Linked DNA regions of Homo sapiens: region 1 is linked to region 2. Evidence: promoter capture Hi-C in human tissues and cell types (Jung and others, 2019). All regions are on one chromosome and are shown on one strand. Each heading gives the region's core, a stretch centred on a gene start or on the middle of the fragment in contact. The rest is flanking DNA. Distances are from core to core; before and after follow the strand shown.

Region 1 (6,933 bases), core at 3,730-6,229, 1.4 Mb after region 2:
TATTGCTGTTTATGTGGCAGTATTGTTCTCCTACAATAAGTTGATGGAAATGAGTTGTTTTGTTTTTCATTTTAGCCATTTTACAAGTAAGTTTGCTATTGTTGTTGCTGTTTTTAGAATAAAATGATTTTACCAATAACATTGAGTGGCTATACCTTTCCTTAATAATGGGAAATTTTATAAATTTGGCTGCTTAATGACATGATTTAGAAGTTTGCACTCTGCTCACTTTTGATTTGACCTTGCAATTACCAAGTTAAATAAAAATGACTTTTATAAGGACATGAATCCAATTGAAACTTCGCAAGATTGGAATCTTTTAATTTTTGAAAGTTGTGTTCCATCAAAAAGCCTTCTGTGGTTTGTGTACCCAAAGAATAATTTTCTATCCAAGTCATACGTCCTGTGTTTCCAAGAAACCCAATCTTGTGCAGGGGTGAGAGTCCATTATCTTCTTCTCTGCCACCCTTTACAATGCAGGCTCATAGGAGATTTGTTTGAGAGCTCATGTACACAAAGATGATTTTATTGCATTACCCAGGTCACACGGCAGAAATTGTCAATTTTATGTCAGGTTTTAAAGATTACATCCTGAATAAGTATATTTTATTTCTTGTCAAAATATACTGTTTATGGTTTCCAATACCAAAGAGGGAGTAGATTATTTTCAGTATAAGTAATCCTGTTGTTCTTTTTTTCCTCCTCTACTCAAGATAGACAAAAATTTGAGAGCTATTTTCTTAGAAAAAATGACCTCAATGTCAACTGTCTTCTCCAGCTACAATTTTGGCAATCTCACTAACTACCTGGTGACTTTGTATTGTCTCTTATTGTGGATTTAAACATTCTGTAATCAGAAAAAACTCAACTTTTCAAGTCTTGGGCCTATTTATTTATTTTTTTTAGCTTAACCTGTTCTGCCTCTCTATAAGCCATACATGGAAATAAGGCCTGTAAAACTGGCAAGATAAATGTAAAGATCAGGGATCAAAGGAAACTCTACTGAGAAATAAAATTATTTTTAATAGAAATTTTTAAAAATATAGTTTGGTGTCTTGGGCAAATAGAGTAGCAGTACTATTATTCTGTCTGTAATTGACTTTAAAATATTTCAACATAGACTTCAAGGTGATAAATACTTGTATTAATTTGTTTCTGTACCTAAAGTAGAGGGTTGTTGGTTAACATTTGAAAGACTCTAATCAAGAGTCCACGGGAAATTATTATAAGGTATGGTAGGCAGTCTCCCAGCGTTTCCACCCTTGTGCAGTAATCCTCTCCACTTGAGTATAGGCTGGACCAAGCAATTTGATTGAACAAATAGAATATAGCAAAAGTGTTGAGATGTTCTGAAAGATCAGGTTATAAAAGATTGTGACTTCCATCTTGCTAGCACTCTCTCTCTCTCTTGCCTTCCTTGGAAGCTGATCCTTTTGCGTCGAGCCGTGAGATGACAGTGAACCCAGCTGACACCTTGATTGCACCTTGTGAGATACCCCAAAGCAGAGGACCCTGATAAATTGTATTTGGATTTCTGACCCACAGAAACTGAGATAACAAATGTTGTTTTAAGCCATTAGATTTAGAGGTAATTTTTTATGTGACAACAATAGATAACTAATACACAAGAGCTACAGGGATCACGTTTTGATCTGTACTAGTTGATCTAACAGTAAGTGAATTATATGGCATGTGAATTATACCTCAATAAAGCTGTTTAAAGATTTATATCAGGGCATTTGTTAAATAGCATAAATAATATTAGAAATGCATACATCTGTGAAAGGAGTGGTGTATAAAATATGTGAGTTGACTAGAAATAATGGACAGCAGAGTACCTCTGTTTTTGCACGAGAGGCATAAGAATGTGGAAAGCCCAGAGCCTTGTACTCTCCCAAGTGGTACCCTAGGCCCAGGACTCTCATTCAGTCTTAGATTTGGCCATAACATGGAGGGATCATGTGGCTTGAATGGACTCAGGTTAGCTAAGATCTACTGTTAGAGCACAGTGGCCTTTGCCCCAAGTAAAACCCTCAAGCAAGCTACTTTTCAGGGAGTCTGAAGAATGCAGTGATGCCTCCCTGAACTTACATGAGCAGACTCTGTGATATTTTTGTGCCTATATGTTAATAATTGCTTGTTCATGAGGCAGAATTTGGTCAGAGATTTGATTTCACTGTAACATATGATCTGCTGTTGAGGGTATGAGAGACTTGCAGCTCTCAATAGAGGCTAAAGAAATCAACCAAAAAGAAGTGGACAATTGTGAATGACCAAGTTGACTCAGGCCATTCTGCAACAGAACTGATGAGACAAGAAGTCGATGCATAAGACAACTGACTGCATCCCTTGCAAGGTAAAGTAGCCCCTGTGTGTCCCCTAGTGTTTGTCTTTGTTGTGGCAAAATGATTAAACTGGCCCCTCATCCCAGCCACCAGTTAATTTAAGCAATGTTAGAGGCACAACAGTACCAGTCATTCTCTCACTCAAAGACCTTTCGTGGTATCCTATTTCCCAAGAACTAAGTCCAAGTCCTTTGTCTTGAATACAAGGCTCTTACAACTTTTGTTTTCTACTATCCATCATACACTAAATTGAACAGCTTCGGGAAATTGAACAGTTCTTGTATTTTCTTGCTTCCTTATCTTTGCTCATTTAATTCCATCCAGCTGAATGATCTTTCCATCCATTAGCTTTGGACAAATAGTGTTTAATGTATTTCAGGCCCTTGAGTACAAAGATAAATAAGGCACAGTCTCGTCCCATAAGAATCTTATTTAGTGTGTGAGTGTGTGAGTTGGCCATATCAACAAGCAATTCCAGTAAAATTTGGTGAGTGATTTGATAAGTTTCTATGGGTAGATTAACTATGGTCACCAATTCTTTGTGGCTCCTCTTATGAAAAAGAGGATTCTCTCTCACCTCCCTGGGCCTGGGCTGTCCCTGTGTCTTGCTTTGACCTATAGAATTCAGTGGAAGTGACACTGTTGTCATTTCTGAGCCTTGGCCTCTAGAGGTCTTGCCAGCTTCTGCCCTCCCTCTTGGATCTCAGCTGCCATAACAGGACACCCAGTGAAGTGGACTGGATAATGAGAGGCCACTCAGAAGAGAATGGAGGTGGCTCAGCTGATGGCAGCACTGTGTTAATCATGTTTTGTATTTTCTGTATTGTTAAGATGTTTGGACATCTTGCAGGTCTTTCAGACCTGGGGAGACACTGACCCTTGCAGAGCTAGCTTACTCCTGGGGGTGTTGGCCTTTCATGTATAGACTGTTCAGCCCAGTGCTGTCCCCCAACCCCCTTCAGCTAACTCCCACACACCAAGCCAATATCTCCCCTGTCCTAAATCAATCCAGGGCCAGGTATCAGACAACCAGGGACAGTCTTTATGTCTCCGAGCCCCCCAGAGTTATTCAAATGAGATGATTCTAAACTTTGACTCTGTCTTGCCTTTCCTTTTTGCAAAAATCTCAATAAAGTCTCAGGTCTAGGCTTCCCCCTTACTCTTGTTTCTGCCTCTAAATCAAAACCTAGTTCTTTGCCATGTGGTCCTGAGTGATTTGGAATGCCCCCTTCTCTGGGGAAATGTAAGTAACAAAAATCTTCTCTCAAGGTCATTAACCTCTCCATGTTGTCACTCAGTCTCTTCTATCAATTAAAACCCTGTGGGTACAAATTTTAGAACCAGCACTAATTAGTAGGGAGGGCTATCCAGCCTTAGTCAAACCTTCAGATGATCAAAGCCATGGGAATGATCTCAGGTGAAACTAGCAGAGCTTCCCAGCTGAATCCAGCCCAAATTGTAAAGTCATGAGAAAGTGAATGTTTGTGGTATAGGGAAGAAATTCAATGGAAAACTATGCATTGTCTACAGCACACCCTTCTGGGTTATCAGATTCTAATTCTATGGGAGCTATTTCACAGCTCTGTGATATTATAAACAACTGATCTCAACCACAAATAATTCTTTTCTATACACATTTAAATGAATTCTGTCCAGTGGAGGAACAGCACTCTCTTTTCCTGCAAAAGTCAGGTTTATCCCATTTTTGCTTGCATTTCAATTTCCCTTTGCTCCGTATAAATTTATGCTTCTTTGACTTCTTTGAATTACTTGTAACATCTATCTGTTTCCTTCATTTTATTTAACATGTGCTCATCCTATACCTACATGAGATTATGGTTTTACCTTATTTTGAAAATTATCCTTTAACATAGCTATCTTAAACCATTAAGTTTTGTAGTGTAGCAGCAGATGCAGGAAGGCAATAACGGAGAGCAGAATCAATTGCTTACATCCCATTGGCTCATACTTCTTTGCTATTTATATTACTAACAGAAAAACGTCACTTCTTTGTGGCATAGACAATAAACATGTATAAAGAAAAATATTGGAAGCACAGCCTGGAACGCTGACTAAAAGGAAGCGGCAGAATGATGAGGTTAAAGGTATGAGCTTTCCTCATTCAATATGCCTGGGTTCAAGCCCAGACTCCACCATATACCAGCTATGTAAACTTGGGCACATTTGTTGATATCTGTAAGTTTCAATTTCTTCATGAACCAAAATCATACACACTGCATAGTAAGCACTAAATAAGACCATGTGGCAGACACCTTTGATTGCCCACCGGACGTTCACTTCCTGATTTCTGAACAGAGCCCCAGGTTCATCCAGGTGTCCACATTGTCTCCAGCTCCAAAGAGGTGTTCTGAGCAATGTAAACCAAGAAGCCTATGGTCCTTCCCTAACATCTGCAGTTATTTAGGAGAGGGCACATGATTGAACTGACTCAACTATGCAAGCAGGAATTGTTTGCATCCCATGTTGGGAGAAAAGTGTTCTTTTCTTGTTTTTGTCCTGTTGGGTGGAATCAGTACACAAATGAATGCTGATTGCTGCAGGCAGCCATCTTATAACCAAGAGGCAAAACAGCCTTGGGACAGAGGCTCTGTTGAGAGTCAGAAGAGAAGGACCAAAGCTGTGAGCCCAGAGCTTGGCCTATAGTCAGCGTTCAGTCCACGTAATCTAAGCAGCAGCCTGGGTTCTGTTGATTTGGAGAGGAACCTTCCTTTGGATTTGTACCAAAAGGATTCTGGCATGTTGGCCAGTGAGAATTGGAAGGGCTACTCTATTTCCCGTAGATTGTGTAAGAAAAGAGGATTTTTATCACGTGACCAGCCCTAAATGATTGTTCCCCTTAAAACCAAAACTCAAATACAATCGAGACATTGGCCTTTGTATTCAATGCCTGTAGCCATAATTCATTTTCTGTCAAAATACAGGGTTTTTTTCCTGCCAAACCGTTGAAATCACAATTTTCAAAAGTTTGGCAAGGACCATTTTCCCATCAGAGATAGCATATTTTTATGGTGATTTTTGCCCATTACATTGTAAAACAATAATAGCCAAAGTCTTGCTTCTGGTCATTGCGTACTCTGAGTATTTGCTAGCACCACCACAAAGTGACACTTCTATTTCAAGCCCTGTTTTGAGGATGTGATAACAAAGTGGAAAAATGTTGCTACTGGCTATAATTTGGCAGATTAGACTTAAGCTTCCAAGGATTCTTCTCAATACAGTTTTGCCAAAATTCAGACACACACACATGCACACACACATACACACACACACACACACAGAGCTTGTTTTTTTTTTTAAGAAAATAAAACAAACAAAAAACTGCATGAAGAAGAAAGAAGAAAACCCTTCTACAAAGTGCTGAAGTCTTGCTTTCTTCTAGTCTCTCATAAGCAATAACCTGGCTTTAAGATATGAGACAAGACAGGGAGTTCATCCAAAGTGATGCCCTCCCCCTGCCTTTTTTGATGGAGTTTTGAAATAAGGAGACTAATTGGCAAATATTTAAAGTTGAGGAAAATGGCAAAATTTGTATGCTTTTGAAATAGAGTCATAGGATTCATCATTGTGTGATCTTTATGGTGATTTGTTTTATCTCCCAATGAGAAGAGAACCCATGCTTATTCAGGCTTGCCCATTTGGGCAGGTCTTTGCATGTCCTGGTAGTATCCAGGTGAATCTCCATGGTCCAATGTCAGCTTGGTTTCTGCACTAGCATCTAGTCCCTCTATGATCATCAGTGTCTGAGAAGTCTGAGTCCCAGTTAAGGTTAACTGTAAAATCCTGTCTGTTGGTACAATTCATTAAAAGACAATTTACCTATAATAGCTACTTAATGTGTCTGCAGTATATTTTCACCATAGACAGAATCAATAGAGATGATCAATAAAAAGAATTATCACAAATTTCCTGACAACTCCATGGTGGCAGCAGCTGGGAAGCCACAGCAAAGGGGTGGGCCTGTTGGTCGGGCTGCACGGGGTGAGAGTTTGTCTCTCAGCCCTTGGAAGACAGTCTAGACTGGTTATCTTGTAGTGCCAGCCTTGTGGCTCTCTAAGAGAGCTGCCCACAGTTCCTTTTCTGGTTTATCCACAAGACCCATTACCTTGATCTCCTCCTACTTCCTCCCCTGGCTCTCAGCCCTTCCCTGAGTAGAGACGGGATGGGGTGAGGCTTTGAGCCTGGTCTGTTTTGATTTTCATTCTTGTTAACCCCAACCAGGAAACTCTTCACAACAAGGGCAGCCAGCTGCCCATTCACACACAGTGAGGTTGCCCTGTGGAGTTATAGCAGAACAAACATATGCTTTCATTCCTGAGTTCCTCATATTGTTTATTTACTTGTGTTTACCTACGTTATCCATGCACAAAAGATTTGAGCCATCTTACTATCATGACAACACATCCTACACTGTACAAATGGAATCAGAATTCAAGGTCCTGGACCAGAACACATGGGACTGTTTAGTGGCTACAACAGAGTTGCACAAAAGGAGATAATGATTGCAGACAGACTCCCGAAGCCTTTGAATGCTGAGTCTACCTACCATGAGACTACTTTCTTGGGACTT
Region 2 (6,746 bases), core at 2,486-4,985:
AACCTTCTGAATCAATTTTATAAGCAAATAGATAAAATTTCTATCTTTAGGGTAATTCCAATAGATAATTCCTGCATTTCTACAATGTGCATATATTACCTGTACATTGTTTGTTTTCAATAGGAGTTCATGGAATTTGAAATCAGAAGAAAAATCCTCATTACAAAACAACAGCATTTTAATTGAATTTTCTAAGTGATCATTTCCGGTTGTTTAAATGCACCTGTTCAAATCAAAGTTCATCATTTTGTTTGGAACAACTTTTGTTTGAGAATCAAATGGTCACGTAAATGACAAAACAAATAAGCATATAATGACAGAAAAGTAAGTGGCAAAATAACTACAAACTTTGTTCCACTGGCTACTGCAGTAGAATAAACAAAATGACAGTTAACCAAAAACACCTTTATTTTCATCTGCAAAGAAGAAGCTCTTTTCTTCTTTTTCCAGGATAATCATGATTAACTTACAAAAATGGGTACACATCTTCAAAGCACTTCCCTTTAACGGGAAACTTAGCTTTATGGGATTTAAACATTAGAAAGTGGGAAAAAAAATTCCATTTTCTTGTCATTATAAGCCAAAACAAAATCTAGTGTAAGTCAAGGAAACTCATTCACACTTCAGGTCCTTCTCCTCCAGGAACCAGCTGCATAAAGAGGAAAAAGAGTTTATTAATAACACTACCACCATGTCATCTAAAAACCCCTTGCTCTTCATTAAGCCACCTTTGCCTGTCCCCTGCACTCCACGTTCCCATTTTCTCCAGATTGTCAGTATCTATTTACAATTCCCAACGTCATCAATTAATACTTACTATCTCAACAGCGATTAAAAGTTCCAAGCAAACTAACCTTTAGACCCAATGCCTCTTCAATAGCTGAGCTTTAGGACCCTGACCACAGAGAACCCCTTTCCCATCTTATGCACCACTGGGCCATGATCATTTAGTCAAGCAAGCAACATTAAGGTTAGTTCTGTAATCACTGCTCCCCAAAAATGGGCTCCCATCAAAATAAAACAGTTTCAATGTGTCTTACCATTGTTATATTATTTCCATTTAGCAAAATCTGATCTAATTTAGTAATCCTTCTTCCTTCTGGTGTGATTTCACTAAATGAATAGATAAAATACAGTCAGGACAAACAGTGAAAATCAAAGCCAACATTTTGGAAATACTTACCCTCCCTAAAAAGGTTATCCTTGTATACAAATTACACTGAGGTTGAGCAATTATATCCACAATTTTCAGATACAAAGGTTATCCACTAGGTAATGTAACCTTCATTAAAAGCAGCAGAATGAACTCACTGACACTAAGACCCACGTCTATCAGACAGAGCTTCATAAAAAGAAGTGAAAGCTTGCCCAGGAAATCAAATATGAAATGAAATGTTTTTTGGGTTTTTTTTTTTTTAAGAGACAGGGTCTTGCTCTGTTGCCCAGGCTGAGTACAGTGGTACAATCATAGTTCACTGCAGCCTAGAACTCCTGGGCTCAAGGGATCCTCACCCTCCAGAGCAGCTAGGACTACAGCTGCCCCCTACTATAACCAGCTAATTTTTAAATTTTTTATAGAGACAGGGGTCTCCCTTTGTTGCCCAGGCTGGTCTCAAACTCCCAGGCTTAATCCTCCTCCTTTGGCCTTCCAAAGTGCTAGGATTACAGGAATGAGCCACCATGTCCAGCCTAAATGCTCTTACTATCAGTTCCTTTATTTGACCTGAACCCTAAAATTCCTGGCTCTTTTTGTTATCTTCTACCTTAAAACTGTGTCTCCACTAATATTCTAGGCGTTTACTAATAATTACATTAAGGTAATAACACTCTGATCCAATTTTACAAGCAAACAGATAAAACGTCTATCTTTAACGTTATTCCACCAAGAGGTAATGTTTTCTCATAAATAATTTTACTCAAAAGTAGTAAAACTGTCTTTAATTAAGAAGAGATTCCCCCCAATTCTTTAACACTACTCACAACTCAGTGACATCTTCCAGTACCATATCTGAAATTTGGTGTTAAGAAAATAAATACAGAATTTACTCTAGCTTCTGCCTTTGTTCAGCTTTTGTTTTTTGTTTTTGTTTTTGTTTTGAGACAAAGTCTCGCTCTGTCATCCAGGCTTAAGTGCAGTGGTACAATCACACCTCACTGCAGCCTCCACCTTTTAGGCTTAAAGGATCCTCCTGCCTTAGCCCCGGAGATTAGCTGGACCCACAGGTGTACATCACCATGCCCAGCTAATTTTTGTAATTTTTGTGGAGACAGGGTTTCATCATCTTGCCCAGGCTGGTCTCAAACTCCTGGGCTCAAGCGATCCACCCACCTCGCCCTCCCAAAGCGCTGGGATTATAGGCGTGAGCCACTGGGCTCGCCTGTTCAGTTTTAATTACAATGTTTAATACAATGGCTCAAATTCAAAATGCTTGTTGTTGATAGGAACTTTACCGTCTTTCAATACATACCTCTTAAAACATTATCATAAGTTCCCTGAGAATGAACTGATTTTTATTATAATAATCACAAATATACTGATTGTCTATAGTTCTTATGTTATTACTTAAGAAAAACCTATACCACCACCACCTTTTAAAAGGATACTGACAAAGTCATCAAATCCTAGAAGAGTACCAACAATTTCCTTATCACTCTTCATCACGATGTGAATTCTTGATCCTATACATTTGTCCACAAGCTCTGAGGAGGGAAAAAATATTATTTTACCATTCATTATTTCAACAAATATTTGAGTGCCTACTGGCACTCTTACTTGCATATAGTGAAAGAAAAACCAGGAAAAACATTCATTCAATAACTTTAGGTCTTATAATACAAATCTCAGTTCAAGCACAGCATCTGGCACATAATGAGCCTTCCAAAAGAGTCTGTGGCATGAAGGAATGAAAACTTTTCAATCACGGCCACGACCACTAGTTCAATCACTCTTCACCAACTACAAAAATATAAGAGGAGATAGGTATAATTATATTCACCGGAAACTCTCCGGTCACTGCTTCCCTTTCCCAACTCTGTCTATCCTCTGTGCTCTGACGGTAGCTTGAACATCTCTTTAGCTAGCCTAGCATTATGTGGCATGATGTCTACTTGTCCAGTGTTCTCTCCTCCACTGGCTTGTGTGCTATTTGAAGGCAATGGCTATGGTTTATCATTGAAAAATGCCCAGGCACGGTATCTAGTGTATAGATACTCAGTTACTACTTATTGAATGAATAAATAACAAACAGAGCTGGTTTCCAGATTCCTCATTTAAGGCTCATTCCGGACCAGGGTGTTAGTGTCACTAACCAACCACATACATAACATGGTCTATCTAATCTGGGGATCGTAAACGCCAGGCTGAGAAGTAGGCCTACTACCTATAACACTGCAGAGGCGGGCTCACAACAAAGTAGGCCGACGACGCGTTCACTAAATGTGGACCTTTTCCAGTGAAGGTCTGGTTTGAGAAGTCAAAGTCCTTGCCTGGAGGAGCCCGACCACGTTAAAGAGCAGGTGCGGCCTGCTGTCGCGAAGACTTGGAGCTCAGAGTCGAACCGCATTTGGTCTTATACATTTCCCCACACTCGGCCAGGGCCTGCCTCGGAACAGCCCCTCGGCCCCCAATCCTGAATGTCAGCTCCCTGTTCCTGCTCCCCAAAGGACGGCGATTACCTAAGGGCAGCAGCTGCGACGGGTTGGTAGTAGCGTTAGCCGCCATGGCTACGCCGGAAGTGGCCTGCCTTCATTGATGGTGGGACGACTTTGAAAAGCGCGCTTCCGCTTTTTCCGCAGCCCAAACAGGCTCGACCAATCTGAGGCCGAGCGCACGATCTAGTCAGCTGCGTGGGTCGCGTTCACTGGCTTTTTTCCCCGGCAAGTGAGATCCGGTGAAATATTTCCTGCCCACTGGACATTTTACCATCTCGGCAGATACCCATAATGCCCTTGAAGTTTTGGAGAGACGTTGAAGATATTTTGCCTTGTGAATAAATTGTTCCTGTAACGTTTGAGTCTTCTTCCCCCGTAAAGTTGCATTTCCTCTCAAGCCAGAATCTTCAAACCAGTATAAATCAATTCGTATTTCCTGCCATCAATTAACTGTTACAATTTTCGTTACAACTACTCATTAAGGAATCTATTGTTTCTTTTTAAAGTCCAGTGGATTGAAAATCTGCAACTAGCATTTTTTAAAATTTTTCTTTAGTGAGGATTTAAGATATGTTTTTTAAACTTTTTACTACTTTAATTCATCGTTCTTATCTTTTTATGTCTGGTAGTCTTATTTATTATAGGCTTTTAAATTCAGTTTCTTCAACAATTCTTGTCTCACAGGCAACCACCAGATGTCACTCTAAATTATTCCAGAAGTGTAAAATCATGCTTTCCACTTCTGTGTTGAAAACAGCAAAGTATCGGCCCTAGTCTGTTTTATATTTGTATCCTAGGAACTTAAACCTGAACAGTCTAGGTCAGGCGCAGTGGTAACGACTGTAATCCCAGCACTTTGGAAGGCCGAGGCGGGCGGATCACCTGAGGTCAGGAGTTCGAGACCAGCCTGGCCAACATGGGTGAAACCCCGTCTCTACTAAAAATACAAAAATTAGCTGGGCGTGGTGGCGTGCGCCTGTAGTCCCAGCTACTCGGGAGGCAGAGGCAGGAGAACTGCTTGAACCCGAGAGGCAGCGGTTGCAGTGAGCCTAGATCATGCAACTGCACTCCAGCCTGAACAACAAGAGCGAAACTCCATCTCAAAAAAAAAAAAAAAAAAAGCTAAACAATAAACATGAGCGGCCACAAAGAACGTCATTCATTCATACAACAAATGGTCATTAAGCACCCATCATTCCTTCATAGACTGAGTTCCTCAAGGCTGAGAATTATGGGAAGCAGTAGTTTACGTGATTAAATTTCTTCATTTTGAATTAAATGACTTTGGTTCAAATTCCATGGTCAGTTATTTGACAATGGGCAAGTTATTTTAACTTTTTAAGTCTCAATATACCCATTGGAAAAAATGGGGACAACAGTATCTACTCATAAGATTAATGTGAAGATTAATTGAGATAATCTATGAAAAGTGGTCAGCATAGGACCTGGCACATAGCCCTTTTAAACATGAGCTGTTATTACTTATCCTTGTTTTCTAATACATGATGTCTGGCTCAGAGTGAAGCTACATAAAGCTAGCATTGCTAGCTGGTTTTGCATTCATCTTATTTTTATAACCAGACATAAGCCACTTTAAGGAAGCAATTTCTTATTTTATACACTGTGCACACTACATTTTCAGGCACACTGTAGGGCGCCTAATGAATATTCTTTAAATTGATTCTCACTATTTCATTCACACCCATCAACATTCTCCTTACTCTTCATAAGATTTTAAATACGAAGTAATGCCAGATTTGTTTGTGACGCTTCTTTCTTTCTCTTTCTCTTTTTTTCTTTTTGTCCAATCCTCATTTGGTTGAAAACCACCTCTTTTCCTGGTTTTCCTTTTCTATTCCTATTTTATTTTCCCCATACCATACTGACAGTATGGGAGAATTCAAAACATTGTTGTTATTTGATAGAGTTTTTAAAAATTAGAAAAATAGGCTGGGCACAGTGGCTCACGCCTATAATCCCAACACTTTGGGGGCCGAGGTGGGCGGATCACGAGGTCAAGACATGAAGACCATCCTGGCCAACATGGTGAAACCCCATCTCTACTAAGAATACAAAAATTAGCTAGGTGTGGTGGCACACGCCTGTAGTCCCAGGTACTCAGGAGGCTGAGGCAGGAGAATCGCTTGAACCTGGGAGGCAGAGGTTGCAGTGAGCCAATCGTGCCACTGCACTCCAGCCTGGCGACGGAGTGAGACTCCATCTCAAAACAACAACAACAAAAAAAAAACAGAATAAACATTAGCAATTTTGAATGCCACTAATAAAGAATAAAGAAAATCTCTTTAGAATCTGAAAAAAGGAACGATATATAGTTCACTTACATAGTAGAGTTAATGGGGATTTCAGGGAGTGGTATTTTTATTATTTTCTCTCCTGAGGCAAGACACAAAAAGGAAGAACAGGCCAATTCCAAATGGAGAGTTGTTATGAACTTGAAAATATGTCATAGCTCTATGTCTCAAGGATTTTTCTCCCTTTAAGTCTTAAGTAGAAGACGTAAAATAGAATTTATAATTTATCATAAAATACATGTAACTACCAAAGGCTCTTCCATGTATTATATGTTCAGAAAGGCATTTCTAATTTTCTCCCTCGAGTTAAATTAGAAATTTTATTATTTTCCCAATAGACATTTGTCCTTGTGGACAATATCTTGTTAATGAATTTATTCTACATTAATACAACTCATTTAAAACATAATGTAAGATGTGCATGGTGGCAGGCAACTGTAGCCCCAGCTACTTAGGAGGCTGAGGCAGGAGGATCCCTTGAGCCCAAGAGTTTGAGGCCAGCCTGGGCAACATAGCAACACCCCATCATATTTTATTTATTAATTTAGAGACAAGACCTCACTCTGTTACCCAGGCAGGAGTACAGTGGTGTGCTCGCGGACTCAAGCAATCCTCCCATCTCAGCCTCCTGAGAAGCCAGTACCACAGGCGCGTGCTACCAAGTCTGGCTATTTATTTTTTATTATTTTTTGTAGAGATGAGGTCTCATTACATTGCTCAGGTTGGTCTCGAACTCTTGGACTCAAGTGATCTACCCACCCTGGCCTCCCAAAGTGCTGAGAT

Evidence for each region. Contacts are between HindIII fragments. The study calls those that stand out against the background at their distance.
Region 1: a fragment that was not itself captured here is called in contact with the fragment with the promoter of LSM5 in region 2 in 1 of the 25 tissues and cell types used here (lymphoblastoid cells).

Annotation. Positions count from the first base shown.
Region 1 is chr7:33,877,136-33,884,068 of GRCh38, forward strand. It overlaps LOC124901613 (a long non-coding RNA gene), which reads left to right. Exons shown (of 2, transcript XR_007060282.1): 2 at 1-139. Among named protein-coding and RNA genes, the nearest start is that of BMPER, 25 kb to the right of the region's middle. The HindIII fragment of the contact is 4,552 bases long and covers 2,704-6,933 here.
Region 2 is chr7:32,486,645-32,493,390 of GRCh38, forward strand. It overlaps LSM5 (LSM5 homolog, U6 small nuclear RNA and mRNA degradation associated), which reads right to left and starts at 3,736. Exons shown (of 5, transcript NM_012322.3): 1 at 3,676-3,736; 2 at 2,605-2,700; 3 at 1,981-2,008; 4 at 1,041-1,113; 5 at 1-649. The coding sequence starts at 3,721. The coding sequence ends at 617. RefSeq lists an enhancer at 3,639-3,688. The HindIII fragment of the contact is 28,883 bases long and covers 1-6,746 here.